Linked DNA regions of Homo sapiens: region 1 is linked to region 2. Evidence: promoter capture Hi-C in 16 types of primary human blood cells and fetal thymus (Javierre and others, 2016). All regions are on one chromosome and are shown on one strand. Each heading gives the region's core, a stretch centred on a gene start or on the middle of the fragment in contact. The rest is flanking DNA. Distances are from core to core; before and after follow the strand shown. Region 1 holds the start of LOC105376136 (a long non-coding RNA gene). Region 2 holds the start of HNRNPK (heterogeneous nuclear ribonucleoprotein K).

Region 1 (6,064 bases), core at 3,332-5,831, 5.3 Mb before region 2:
ACTAACTACATGTAAGGAAAATTATTTCCAAAATCTAACGTTTATTTCAGTTGAAATGCAAAATAGTGCAAGTATTACTAATTTGTAAGGCTGCCCAGAAAAATTAACAGTTTTTCTCTTGTGAAAACAGACTTCCATGATGTGGGGGTGGGGGCACCCACTGTTATGCCCTTAGAAACATTAAGACCCTCACGTAAAAGGACTAGGAAATTAAGTTTGTAATTAAGAAAAATCAAAGAAAGATAGAGATAACTGCACACTGGGAAAAATAAATACTAGCCTTTGAAATTTACATTGCATGCTGCACCATTACATATTAATACAAACCACCCTAGACTCATGCCTTAGTGCTATATTATTACTAGTTTCCCCTTTAAAATTATGTGTGGAAATTACTATCCTGTTTCATAAAGGTTACTGGCTTGGCCAATTAATACCAGCTCTAATTTTTATTGGATTAAAATACATCACTTCAGATATGTAAACTTTCTTCTATACATTACCACACACAAATCATTTGAGTATATTAAAACTAAAAAATCGACCTACTGCCATCAGAAAGAAGTCTGAGAAATAGCTTCATTTATTTTCAATATTATACCCTAAAAGAAACTTGTACCGACCCTTAAATCCTTATCCTAAACACTTGGCACCAGATGTGTTTCAGAATAATTTTCTAGGTTTTAGTAAGATTATTACGGTTTACATTGTGTTCATTATTGGATATCCTCAATAGGGCTCTTGATTAACATCGCATAATTGAACACTGCCAGCATATTACACGAGTATAGTTTATTATTACTATAAGGTTAACACAATCTACTTGAAATTTACCTACAGCCAGAAAAACATGCTATTTTTCTAGCTAGGAATACAAAAGGGTGCAATTACTACTACCCATAGAAATATTCAGTAGTCCTCATGTGAAAACAGACTTCCATGCTACTAGGGAGGGGGAGAAAAAGAGAAACCACCCACTGTTTTGTTCTTTCTTCCTTAAATAGCATTCGGAGAAATCTAACCTACAAAGGCAGCAGACAGAAAACAAGGTCACAATTTGGCCAACGATGGCATGGGCTTTATCTCCCCTAAATCTTGGTAGTATCCCAGAACGCAGCGTTCTAGTCGCTACCTAGTTAAGAAAAAGGGGTTGACTGTTTTCTGAAGCCACGCCCTAAATGAAGTGTCCCGCATACAGTAAGGACAACAAATTTTAAATGTCCCTACTCGCTTTCCCCCAATCTACTTTAATTGGGGGGAAGGGGACAGGGACATTTAAAATTTGTCTAATTTTACTGATCGATTACAGCCACCATGTTCTAGTACGGTGCTTCAGGACTCAAACGCAAAAGTTTCTCAAAGCCCAAAATTTGGCCAGTGTATACTAGCAGAAAATGATGCCCAAAGTCCACTCAAGTTCTTAATCGGCCTTAAAATGAAACTCCTTTAATAATACCCTCAATTGTATGACTGCGGCTAACCTATAATGGCCCAAATCACCATACCCAGTAAACATTTTCGAATCCCCATCAAGCTCATTTTTCGGGGGGTCGCCTCCAAAGCTTATTCTTATACCACTCACTTCAAAAACAAGAAAAAGAAAAGTGTTCCTCTGTGTTAACAGATGAAAATGACCATTTGACCATTCTAAACCACAAACTAGTAAAAGCTGCATCACCCCGTCAGCGACAGGGAAAGTGTGTCACGGTTGCTAAAGGAAAAAGGACGGCACCAGGTGGGTTTTCCTGGACTGGTTCAAAGAACTGGAACTGAGACCAGCTACTGAACGGCCTAATTACTTCGGCCACGGCCGAGAAAAAAGTGACGGGATGGTCACTCCGCGTCGCCGAGGACCCCATGACCCCCAAGTTGCGCCGGTTCCTACCCAGGTACTAAATGCGGCCCGGTGGGCACTCTTCCCTCACCCTCCGCGCACACCGAACAAAGGCCCAACCGGCCCGGCGCGGCCAGGCACCCAACCATGTCCGACTGCGCGGGGCGCCAGGTGGCCGCGACCCCAAACCCCGGCCCTCGCCCTCCGGCCCCGGGCTCCGCCCCCCAGGCCCCGGCCCCCACCCCCGACCCTACTATGCCTGGGTCGCCCCGCCCGCGGGGGCCCCGGCTGAGGGAGCCGGCTCGGGGTCTAAGAAAGGCGCCCACCGGTACTCGTAGTGTTCGTCGAAGTACTTGTCCGAGTAGTAGATCTGCTTGTGGGCCATCCTGCTGGCGCGCTGCAGAAAATGAAACGAGAGCGCGAAGAGCGGGCGCAGCAGACAAAACCACGTCCAGCCCAGGCAACAACTCGCCGGAGACTAACGACCGCAGTCCCAACGATCCGGATTTGAATCCGACAGCCCGCCGCCGATTGGACAGCAGCGCCGACCAATCACCTTCTGCGGAAGTCGGCCGGCTGCCAGCCTATCGTCGCCGCCGCCTCGCAAAGTCCGCTTCCTGGGTCAGCCAATCAGAGATCTGTTGCGAGGTTGCCCGAGGGAAGATAGGTACGTCACGGGGGTGGCAGGGCCCTTAACGGGCAGGGGCGTGGCCAGAGGAGGGCGAAGTCGGGACGTTAAGGGCCGCAGAGCGCGTGCGCAGGAACGTGGAAAGTTCCAGGACACGGAACCGTTGGGACGGAGGACCTGAAGGTGGAGTGAGGTATCACGGGGTTTGGTGATGACGTAGTCGGTCGAGGCCGGAAGCGTGGGCCACAGGGCTTTGAGCGGAAGCTGTCGACCTTGCACGGTGATGGCGCTCCTCGTGATCCCTTGTATCCCCTCAGGCTCGAGCCAGGAGCCTAGGTCCACTTTGAAAAGTAGTAAAAGGCAGAAAGGTTCTGCGGTGTGAGGGGGAGGGCGGCTTCGTGGTCGGCTGGGTCGGGGGAGCGCCGGGCGGCCGCGGCGTGGCTGTGTCCGGGGCTGCCCTGCGCAGCCGGCCGTTTCGCCGCCTGGTGCACTTGCTGAGCTTCCGGCCTGGCCCGTCGCGGGGCTCCTGGCGCCCCCCTAGACGACTGTGTGGAGAATGGAGCCTGCGGAGCCACGCGTAGAGAGAGGCCCGGAGCCGGCGCGGTGGCGGCGGGCGCCAGTGGTCCCAGCCACTCGGGAGGCCGAGGTGGAGTGTCGCTTGAGCCCAGGAGTTCCAGACAGGCCTGAGCAACAGAGCCAGACCCCGTCTCCACAAAGAAAGAAACAAATGGGCCAGAGACCCAGAATGCTTTCTGTAGCCTAACCTAATGTTCAAAACCAGGGCAGACCCAAGCCATGGAAAGCTTGAGGGAATAAAATAATATTCTGCTGCGGCCAAGAATAACAATGCTAATTCCTGGATAAGGGGATTTAAAATGATGTTTAACAACTTCTGGTCTTTTAATATTGACCCAAGTTTAAAAACATGTTCATATAAAAAAGTTACTGGAAGAAATTTATAAATGTAACTGGTGGTTATTTTTAGATGACAGAATTAAAAGTGATCTTTTTGGTATTTTTTCCACAACGAGCACGTGTCATTTTTATGTTAATTTCATTTTATGCGAAATGCTCCAGCGCAGTACAGGCTAGTGGGTTCAGGGTGGCTGTGACTAAGTAATGTAGATGGGGTACCTTAGACAAAGTTTCCAGACTAGAGGCTGGAAGTAAGAGGTCCGGGTGCCCTTTTCCACACTGCAGACCACGGACTTTTCCGGTTTCTGAACAAGTGAGACAGGCCGGCTAAGGACATTTATAATCTCCATGGGTGAGGGCCCCACCCTCATGACCATCTAATCTTGATTACCTCCCGAAGGCCCCACCTCCTAACTTCCTAATACAATCACTTCTTGGGGGAAGAGGGTGTTTGGAATTCCACCCCCCGCCCTTTTTTTTTTTTGGAGACAGTCTCACTCTGCTGCTCAGGCTGGAGTGCAGTGGTGTGATCTTGGCTCACTGCGACCTCCCCCTCCCAGGTTCAAGCCATTCTGCCTCAGCCTCCAGAGCAGCTGGGATTACAGGCCCAGCTAGTTTTTGTATTTTTAGTAGAAACGGGTTTTCATCATTTTGGCCAGGCTGGTCTCGAACTCCTGACCTCAAGTGAACTGCCCGCCTTGGCCTCGCAAAGTGCTGGGATCGTCAGAGGCAAGTGAACCAGAGCACCTTCATCTTAAACAGGAGCTGGGTAAGATGAGCCTAAAACCTACTGGGCTGCATTCCCAGACAGTTAAGGCATTCTAAGTCACAGGATGAAATGGGAGGTCAGCACAAAATACAGGTCATAAAGACCTTGTTGATGAAACAGGTTGCAGCAAAGGAGCCAGCCAAAACCCACCAAAACCAAAATGGCGAAGAGAGTGACTTTGGTCCTCACTGTTACACTCCCACCAGTGCCATGACAGTTTAGAAATGCCATGGCAACATCAGGAAGTTACCCTACATGGTCTAAAAAGGGGAGGCATGAATAATACACCCCTCGTTTAGCATATAAGCAAAAAATAACTATAAAAATGGGCAACCAGCAGCCCTCGGCTGTTCTGTCTATGGAGTAGCCATCCTTTTATTCCTTTACTTTCTTAATAAACTTACTTTCATTTTGCACAGTGGACTCACCCTGAATTCTTTCTTGCACGAGATCCAAGAATTCTCCCTTGGGATCTGGACTGGACCCCTTTCCTGTAACAGAATTACAGGTATGAGCCACAACACCCGGCCTGGAATTTCCACGCATGATTTGGTGGCTGGGAGCAGACACAAACATTCGTTCATACATGATAGAATCCTTCAGGTCTCAGATTAAGCATTTCATCTTCTGAAAGGCCTTCCTTAATCAACTTCTCTACAGAAAGTTCTTCAATTTCCCCATTATGCCCTTGCCACCGACTCCAGTGGGCTTCCCTCCCACTGTCGCAATTGCATGTTTGCTTAGGTGGTGGTTGTCTCCCTATCTGCGCTATAAAATACTCTCTGTTAGTGAGCCAAGACTGTGCCACTGCACTCCAGCCTGGGCGACAGAGCGAGACTCCGTCTCAAAAAAAAAAAAAACAACTCTGTGAAGCTAGTGTAGAGGCCATGTCTGTCTTGTTCACCACGGAGTGCCTAGCACATAGCAGAGTTCCTTGCACATAAGCACACAATAAGAAGTAAATTTTAGGCACAGTATAATAAGAGTAAATAATTAGGTATAATTACTATGATGGCAAAAATGTGAATAAACTGTTAAGGAAAATGGACAAGGAAATTACTTTCTGGCAGAACCTGGGGGAAAAAAACTTCCTGGGAGATATATTTTTAAATAAATGTATAGATGCTCCTTAATTTACAATGGGATTACATCCTGACTAGTCAAAAAAATTTTAAGTTGAACCATTGTAAGTCAAGGACCATCTGCACTGTGAAAAGTTCAAACACATGGAATAATAGAATCAACTCCCATGTACAGGTTGTGCATCTTTAATCTGAAAATCTGAAATGCTCCAAAAGTCCAAAACGTTGAACAACACTGACATGAGCTCAAAGGATATGCTCATTGGAGCACTTCAGATTTCAGATTTTCCTATTAGAGATACTGAACTGGTTAACAAAATGCCCATATTCCAGATTCCAAAAAACCCTGAAACACTTCTGGTCCCAAGTGTTTTGGGTAAGGGATACTCAACTTGTTCCAGTCATTTAGCTTCAGCAATTACCGTTTGCCAATCATGTTTCATCTGTTCCTCTCTAACTTTTTTTTTCTAGAATATTACTGAAGAGATCTCAGATATGTCAGTTCACTCCTAAATAAAACTTTTCAGTGTATCTCTGTGTTTATGGTGTGCATCTCAGGAAAATTTTTTAAAAAATGCATAACCACATCATACTTACGCTTAGACGTCCTTAATACTCTTTGATAGCTGTTTTAGACTCACATTTCCCTGACTGCCTCACCAAAGCTTTTTATAGTTTGTTTAACCCTGCTTTCAAACTTGGGCCTACATCTTGCATTTTGTTATTGTCTCTCTTTTTTTTTTTTTTTTTGAGATGGAGTTTCACTCTTGTTGCCCAGGCTGGAGTGCAATGGCGCGATATCTGCCCACTGCAGCCTCTGCCTCCTGTGTTCAAGC
Region 2 (6,340 bases), core at 3,038-5,537:
TCAGGAGATCCAGACCAGCCTGACCAACATGGAGAAACCCCATCTCTACTAAAAATACAAAAAAATTAGCCGAGCTTGGTAGCACATGCCTGTAATCCCAGCTACTCGGGAGGCTGAGGCAGGAGAATCGTTTGAACCCAGGAAGCAGAGGTTGCAGTGAGCCGAGATTGCGCCACTGCACTCCAGCATAGGCAACAAGAACGAAACTCAGTCTCAAAAAAAAAAAAAAGGTATGTTCATACCATATTATCCACTTCTTTTACTTTCCAGAATTAAGGACATAATCATAAATAAGGACAAAGAAAAGCCATATATTTAAGGAGATAATATCCCCGGTACTGTGATTTGATCTTTACAAATTAAGTGAATATATTAAATTATCACATATACCCCAAAACTATGTACATCTTTTATGCATCAATAAGTAACAAAATAAATAAAGACAAAGATTTATGTGGCAGAGAGTTTACCACTGAGTTTTTATATTTTGAAAAAAACAAAATGTTCAAAATGGGAAAAAAAGTTAAATACATAGCACTACCACCATGAAATGAAAAGCTATGAAATCTTTAAAGAAACCATTTTTAAGAATTATTTAATGACAAAGAAATACATTCACATTTTGTTGGGAAAAAGAACACATATAAAATTACATACAGCTTAATCCCCATTAATTTTATAATCAGGAAAAAACATTTTTAAGAAAGCTGATTAGCATTGTATGAATGATAAACTTGGCTGACCACACTAATCTGCATTCTAGATCTGTACTGCCAGGAACTGAACAAAAGAAAATAAAGTGGGAAAATTTTATCACCTACCACGAAGGTCTAGGCATATTTGATTTACAGATTAATTTTCAGTCAGCCTCATATATTCCAATTTTTTTTTAATAAAAAGCGAGGCAGGAGTGTCATCCTTTTGGACCTTACGTGTGTCATTCTGACAATAGCTGAGACTTAAAAGCACTAACGAATATTTAAATCTACTCCACAGTTCCATTATCTTCATCTAAACAATAAAGGTAAGTCTACATTTTAATTCATTGAGGATGAGTTCAAGGTAATCCTGGAATTTTTGAGAAGATACTCCGAAAATTAGGGAGGAAAAATTTATACCGTATATGACTGAAATTAGAAGAAGTAATCAGAGGAGATTTTTATGGATCCTCCATAACCTAAAGTAAGGAAAAGACAGAAAGAGAATCTGGAACCCCATTTTGCTATGTGACCTTGGATATGTTCCTTAGCTTCTCTTAGTGCTAGTTCATTCGTTCACAAAACAAAGATAACTAACAACTTGCTCAAAGAACTCTAAAAAGTATTAAACTGCCAGCACAACGTTTAGCACACAGTGGGGAACTCAGGAAATAGTAGTTATAAATACTATTTTAAACAATAATGCAGCTGGATAGTGTACATTCTCAATTATATTAGCCCATCTAAAGTAAATCCCCCATCTAAGTAATATTGGGTCTAAATTCACTGAGTCCAAAGTGATCACTACACCATTACACCATTGTACCAATTACACAAGACTGGAGTCAATGAATGTATTGTTAAGTTCTTGAATGAACACAGGTATAAAATTATTGGGTTGAAAAGTCTTAATTTCAAACAGAGAATAAAAGGATGGAGAAAAAAGACTTTCCTGTTATTTAAAGAGCAAACCTAAAAATTAAAAAGACGTAAAGAAGAAATCAAATGGGGGGAAAAATAGCAACCATCCCACAATGGCATCTAGAGGGGATGAATAATTTACACCAGTCGGGGTCCAGTCTGGACAATGAAACTGGGAGGAAGAGGTTTTTTTTTTTGTTTTTGTTTTTGTTTTTGAGACAGGGTCTCGCTCTGTCGCCCAGGCTGGAGTGCAGTGGCGCGATCTCGGCTCACTGCAAGATCAGCCTTCCGGGTTCACGCCATTCTCCTGCCTCGGCCTCCTGAGTAGCTGGGACTACAGGCTCCTGCAACCACACCCGGCTAATTTTTTTTTTTGTCTTTTTAGTAGAGACGGGGTTTCACAATGTTAGCCAGGATGGTCTCGATCTCCTGACCTTGTGGTCCGCCCGCCTCGGCCTCCCAAAGTGCTGGGATTACAGGCGTGAGCCACCGTGCCCGGCCGGAAGAGGTTCTTATATAGGGCTGCTTACTTGTGATTCCCACTCATCATTCCTTATCAAGAAAATGATGACTGCAACATAAATCCTAATTTGAAAGAAAGCACAGCATCATCATTACCGTACCGCTATTTGTGCATATTAGTGTCAGTGACATGTCTCAGGTTTTAAATGACAAACTCAATTAAATGTTGCAAATACTAACTGGCGGATTAAATCTCTATAATCCAAGTATCCTAAGCCCCTACATAAACTCATCAGTTTTGAATATTTAATAAAATTCTGAACTTTGTGTTTTAGAACTGAAATGCGAGTTAAGTTTTACCTACCCAACAAGACTATACACTCTTCATGGTGGGGACCATTTAAAAAATTATATTATCACTTAAAGAGAACTTTTATAAATTCCACAATCCCGGACATTATGTTCTAACAGCATGTGTTAACGTATCCTCCCAGAATGTAAATACTGGTGTTTGTCATGAAATCCTCAGTGCGCCCTAACAAGAGTTTTCCTCTAATCAGTCAAGTAAAAGATGCTGGGTGGATGCAATCATGGCCATTTAAAAGAATGCTGGTATATATGTTTTGCAAATTACCCAAGAAGGAAACATTATAACAGGAATGAATCAGCACAAATTCATCAACACTAAAATATATGCATGTATTCGGCCAATGGTGGATTTCGCTTTATGTGCAGATTATGACACCTTTATGCTTCAAAATGAGTTTGGGATTGTGGGCGGAGGCTGGAAGGTTGACGAGTAAGGATGTGGAAAGCGGGTACTACCAGGGCTGGAGATTTCCCAGGGCTGTCACCGATTGAAAGTGACCTTATGTGCCTTAACAAAGGAAGTCATGAAAGCTTGGCACAGGAGCCTTAAAAGTAAGGAACCGAATACAATGCAAGTGTGCGCTGAACCCGCTAGAACAGGAGCACGTTTGAGGGCAAGGGTTTTTGTCTGTTTTCATCACTGCCACAAGGCAGGCGCTTTGAATGGAACGTGGAGGTCTGCAACGTATTCAGCGATACGCATTCATTTTAGGAGACAAGGGCAATACATATTGCCTAAAAATTTTATCGGAATAAACTACAGCGACGACACTACAAAATACTTCCATCTCAGGTCCCATTACCCAAGAGGAAAGTCTCAGAACCGAGAGCCCTGTGAAACCGCCTGTGCCCTCTCGGCGAGAAGTTCTCCAGTACTCCCAGGCTCGCCCCGCGTTTCCCCGGCTCCCGCCCCGGCGCAAGGCAGGCCGAGAACCGCCAGCTGCGCCCCCGGGCCCGGCCTTGACTGACGGGCGCCCCGGACCATTACAAACAACGGGTTTCCGAAGCGTGGGCCCGGCCCAGCGGACGCAGACGGCCCGCACTTACCGCGCCGCAGCTCGTCCCACAGCCCACAGACCACAGCCCGGGGCGGGGTAAGGGGCTTCGGGCACGAGTGTGGGCTGTGAAAACACGGGCATAAGTCTGGGCCGAGCACCGACCTGGGCGTCCCGCATTTTCCTCGCGCAACATCGGTCCCTGGGCAGCGCAACTGTAAGGACAGGAACCGCCGCGGCGCGCTCCCAGTTCCTTTTTTACCTCTTCCCGCCCGATTTGCCGCGCGCTCGCGCCCCTCCTCCAACCCCAAAGGACTCCTTCGGGGCTGGAAAACGCCCCTTCCCCGCCCCCTCCCTGTGCGCGTGAACTAGGCAGTTGTTAGATCTCGCGAGAGGTTCGCCCCCTAGCCGCCCCTCCCCCCAGCTAGTGAGTGCGCGAACGAGAAAGGAGGAGGGCGCTCCAGGCGACAGCACTGCAGACGCCATTATCCTCTGTTTCTCTGCTGCACCGACCTCGACGTCTTGCCTGTGTCCCACTTGTTCGCGGCCTATAGGTAATTGGAGTTATTGGAGCTTGGGTATTGCTGATTCGGGTAAGGGTTGGGGCTCCCTGAAAGGCTGCGTTTACTTTTCCCAAGCCCGGGTTTTCTCGAGCCCTTAGTGGCCTCCCAGCCCGAAGGGAGGCGCTGGCGGGAGGCGGGGTTGTCGCCTCCTCCGTCGCCTTGATTGACGTGGCCTCGGGCCAATCGCTTCGCCCTCGCACCATCGCTGAAGCCCTGGCAGCCAATAGGGCGCGACGGCGGGGAGGACGCGAGAAGGCGGGGGAGGGGAGCCTGCGCTCGTTTTCTGTCTAGCTCCGACCGGCTGAGGCGGCGCGGCAGCGGAGGGACGGCAGTCTCGCGCGGTGAGGAGCCGGGTTGGGGGAGCGGCTCGTGGAGGTGAGGGTCGGAGCCCAGTTTTTCCGCTTGAGGGAGGCGTCCTGGGAGCCGCTTTGGTGTTTGGCCGCTTCTCCGAGTGGGAACGTTGCCCGGTGTCCCCTCCCCCACCTCCGCCATTTCCCTGAGCGTGTATCCGCAGTCCGCGTTGTGGTCCTAGAGACTTGGGGATTCGTGAGGCATGTGCCTCTAGGATGAGCTGGAGCTATGTGGCACTGGGAACTAGGGACCTCGTGGAGGAAAGGAGGCCGGTGCGGGGAGAAGGTCGCGCCGCCGCTCTCTTTGTGTGAGCCCCGCCTCACCTTGGGTCTCCCGGCCCGGGGTCGGAGCTGGAGCGGCGGGGATGGAACGGTCAGGGCTGCCTCGATGGCTTTGTCTCGGGCAGTGGGGGGAGGATGCGGGGGATGAGACCTCGGGACCGCGTGGTGGGTGGGGGAGGGGGTCGGCGCTCGGCTCCGCCTAGTAGCACGTAGTCGCCATTACGCGGGCCGCCATTTCCTGTCGGATCCGGGTGAGGAGAGGTGCGGTGCTTCTGCTGTCGACTTTCGCTTTTTCCCGTCCTGTTACCCGGCTGTTTTTGATCTCGGTGCCGGGAGGCGGGGAGGGGAGGGCGCGTTGGCGCTCGGCCAGTGGAGCACATACTTAGCGGATTTTTGAGGCCTGGGGACTAGTGACTGCAGGACCCGAAGGGTGAACGGCAAGCGGCAACGTTATTCTTACAGATAAGCCCTGCTGTTTTTGCTTAAACTTTCTTATCCAACTCTTCTCCCACCACACCTCAGAAATTGCGTGCTGGGCCGGAAGGATGTCGTTTCAGTTGTCGTTAGGAGAGCAATAAGTCGACCAACGGTATGGGAGAATGGGAGGCATAAATGTGCCTCGCTTGTTGGCTCTTTGCTGTCTAGCCAACCTTCTAGTAGAGGCCGCTTGTCAACTCCTAGTCCCGACAAGAGGGAAGCTTAAAAAGGCTGTTTGTAGTCCTATCGACCGTTTTGGCACGTAGACACTTTAGTTTTCGTGTTACAGGCATGATTGTTGTGTTGTACTCCCTTAAGCCTAATTTAAAATAATCCGCTAGTGACTGTTAGTTTTCAAGGGCTCCATTTGTTTCGCTGATTAATAATAGACTGGTATTGTGGTAGTTTGGGTCTGGTCCTATATTAGATTTTTGGATTTATCCCTCCGGTAGATTGTTCTGGTTGTTGGATGTGTTCGCAATTGCCGTTGTATTTGTAAACTTTAGAGATGTCACATAAGATCGCTTCAAGCATGAGTCGAAAGAAATAGGAAAGCAATTGGAAGTTTTAATATAAAATTAGTTTTCCCAGTGAATAAGATGCATTGTAACTTTTCATAAATGTATGCTTTGTGGATGACATTTATCTTTTCAGGGTTTTGGGAATGTGCCGTATAAAACAATTCATTGCTGTGGTGGGACTTAATCCAGTGGCTAAAAGTTATTGTTCTAACTTAGCAAAAAATGAAACCAGGCTCCCTTGAATTTTGTATTTTTTAGGCAGTCATTTGAATTGTGAAACCCTAAAATGAAGAATCAAGTTTTAGAAACAGCTGGTTTTTTGGGTTCAAATCAGTATTCACTGTGATCGGAAACAAATATTCAGTAATAAGAATAAACAAAAGCAAAACTGATTTGTGTTGGTTCTTATAGGCTACTGCAGCACTGGGGTGTCAGTTGTTGGTCCGACCCAGAACGCTTCAGTTCTGCTCTGCAAGGATATATAATAACTGGTACGTTCTAGAAGCAATGTCTTTTTTTTTTTTTTTTTTTTACAGCTTGCTTTCCAATAAGCCAAATGTACTAGCTGCTTTATTTTTCCACAGATTGGTGTGCCCGTTTAATAAAAGAATATGGAAACTGAACAGCCAGAAGAAACCTTCCCTAACACTGAAACCAATGGTGAATTTGGTGAGAAGAAATTTTAGTTTTAACAGTATTTTT

The links. The method cuts DNA at HindIII sites, captures the fragments that hold promoters and counts their contacts. A CHiCAGO score of 5 or more calls a contact.
Region 1: a contact is called between a fragment that was not itself captured here and the fragment with the promoter of HNRNPK in region 2, in 3 of 17 cell types (total CD4 T cells, naive CD8 T cells and activated CD4 T cells). The highest score is 13.2, in total CD4 T cells.

Annotation. Positions count from the first base shown.
Region 1 is chr9:89,307,448-89,313,511 of GRCh38, reverse strand. LOC105376136 (a long non-coding RNA gene) reads left to right here and starts at 2,710. Exons shown (of 3, transcript XR_930101.4): 1 at 2,710-4,146; 2 at 4,566-4,654. CKS2 (CDC28 protein kinase regulatory subunit 2) reads right to left here and starts at 2,317. Exons shown (of 3, transcript NM_001827.3): 1 at 2,161-2,317. The coding sequence starts at 2,219. It overlaps MIR3153 (microRNA 3153), which reads right to left and starts at 1,287; the gene lies at 1,206-1,287. RefSeq lists enhancers at 1,762-1,811, 2,482-2,771 and a silencer at 2,782-3,011. The HindIII fragment of the contact is 2,628 bases long and covers 3,268-5,895 here.
Region 2 is chr9:83,978,162-83,984,501 of GRCh38, reverse strand. HNRNPK (heterogeneous nuclear ribonucleoprotein K) reads left to right here and starts at 4,287. Exons shown (of 17, transcript NM_031263.4): 1 at 4,287-4,349; 2 at 6,050-6,129; 3 at 6,223-6,307. The coding sequence starts at 6,250. RMI1 (RecQ mediated genome instability 1) reads right to left here and starts at 3,697. Exons shown (of 3, transcript NM_001358291.2): 1 at 3,611-3,697. RefSeq lists silencers at 3,284-3,363, 4,174-4,313 and enhancers at 3,008-3,516, 3,574-3,663, 3,684-3,753, 3,884-3,943, 3,517-4,024 and 2 more. The HindIII fragment of the contact is 2,357 bases long and covers 2,984-5,340 here.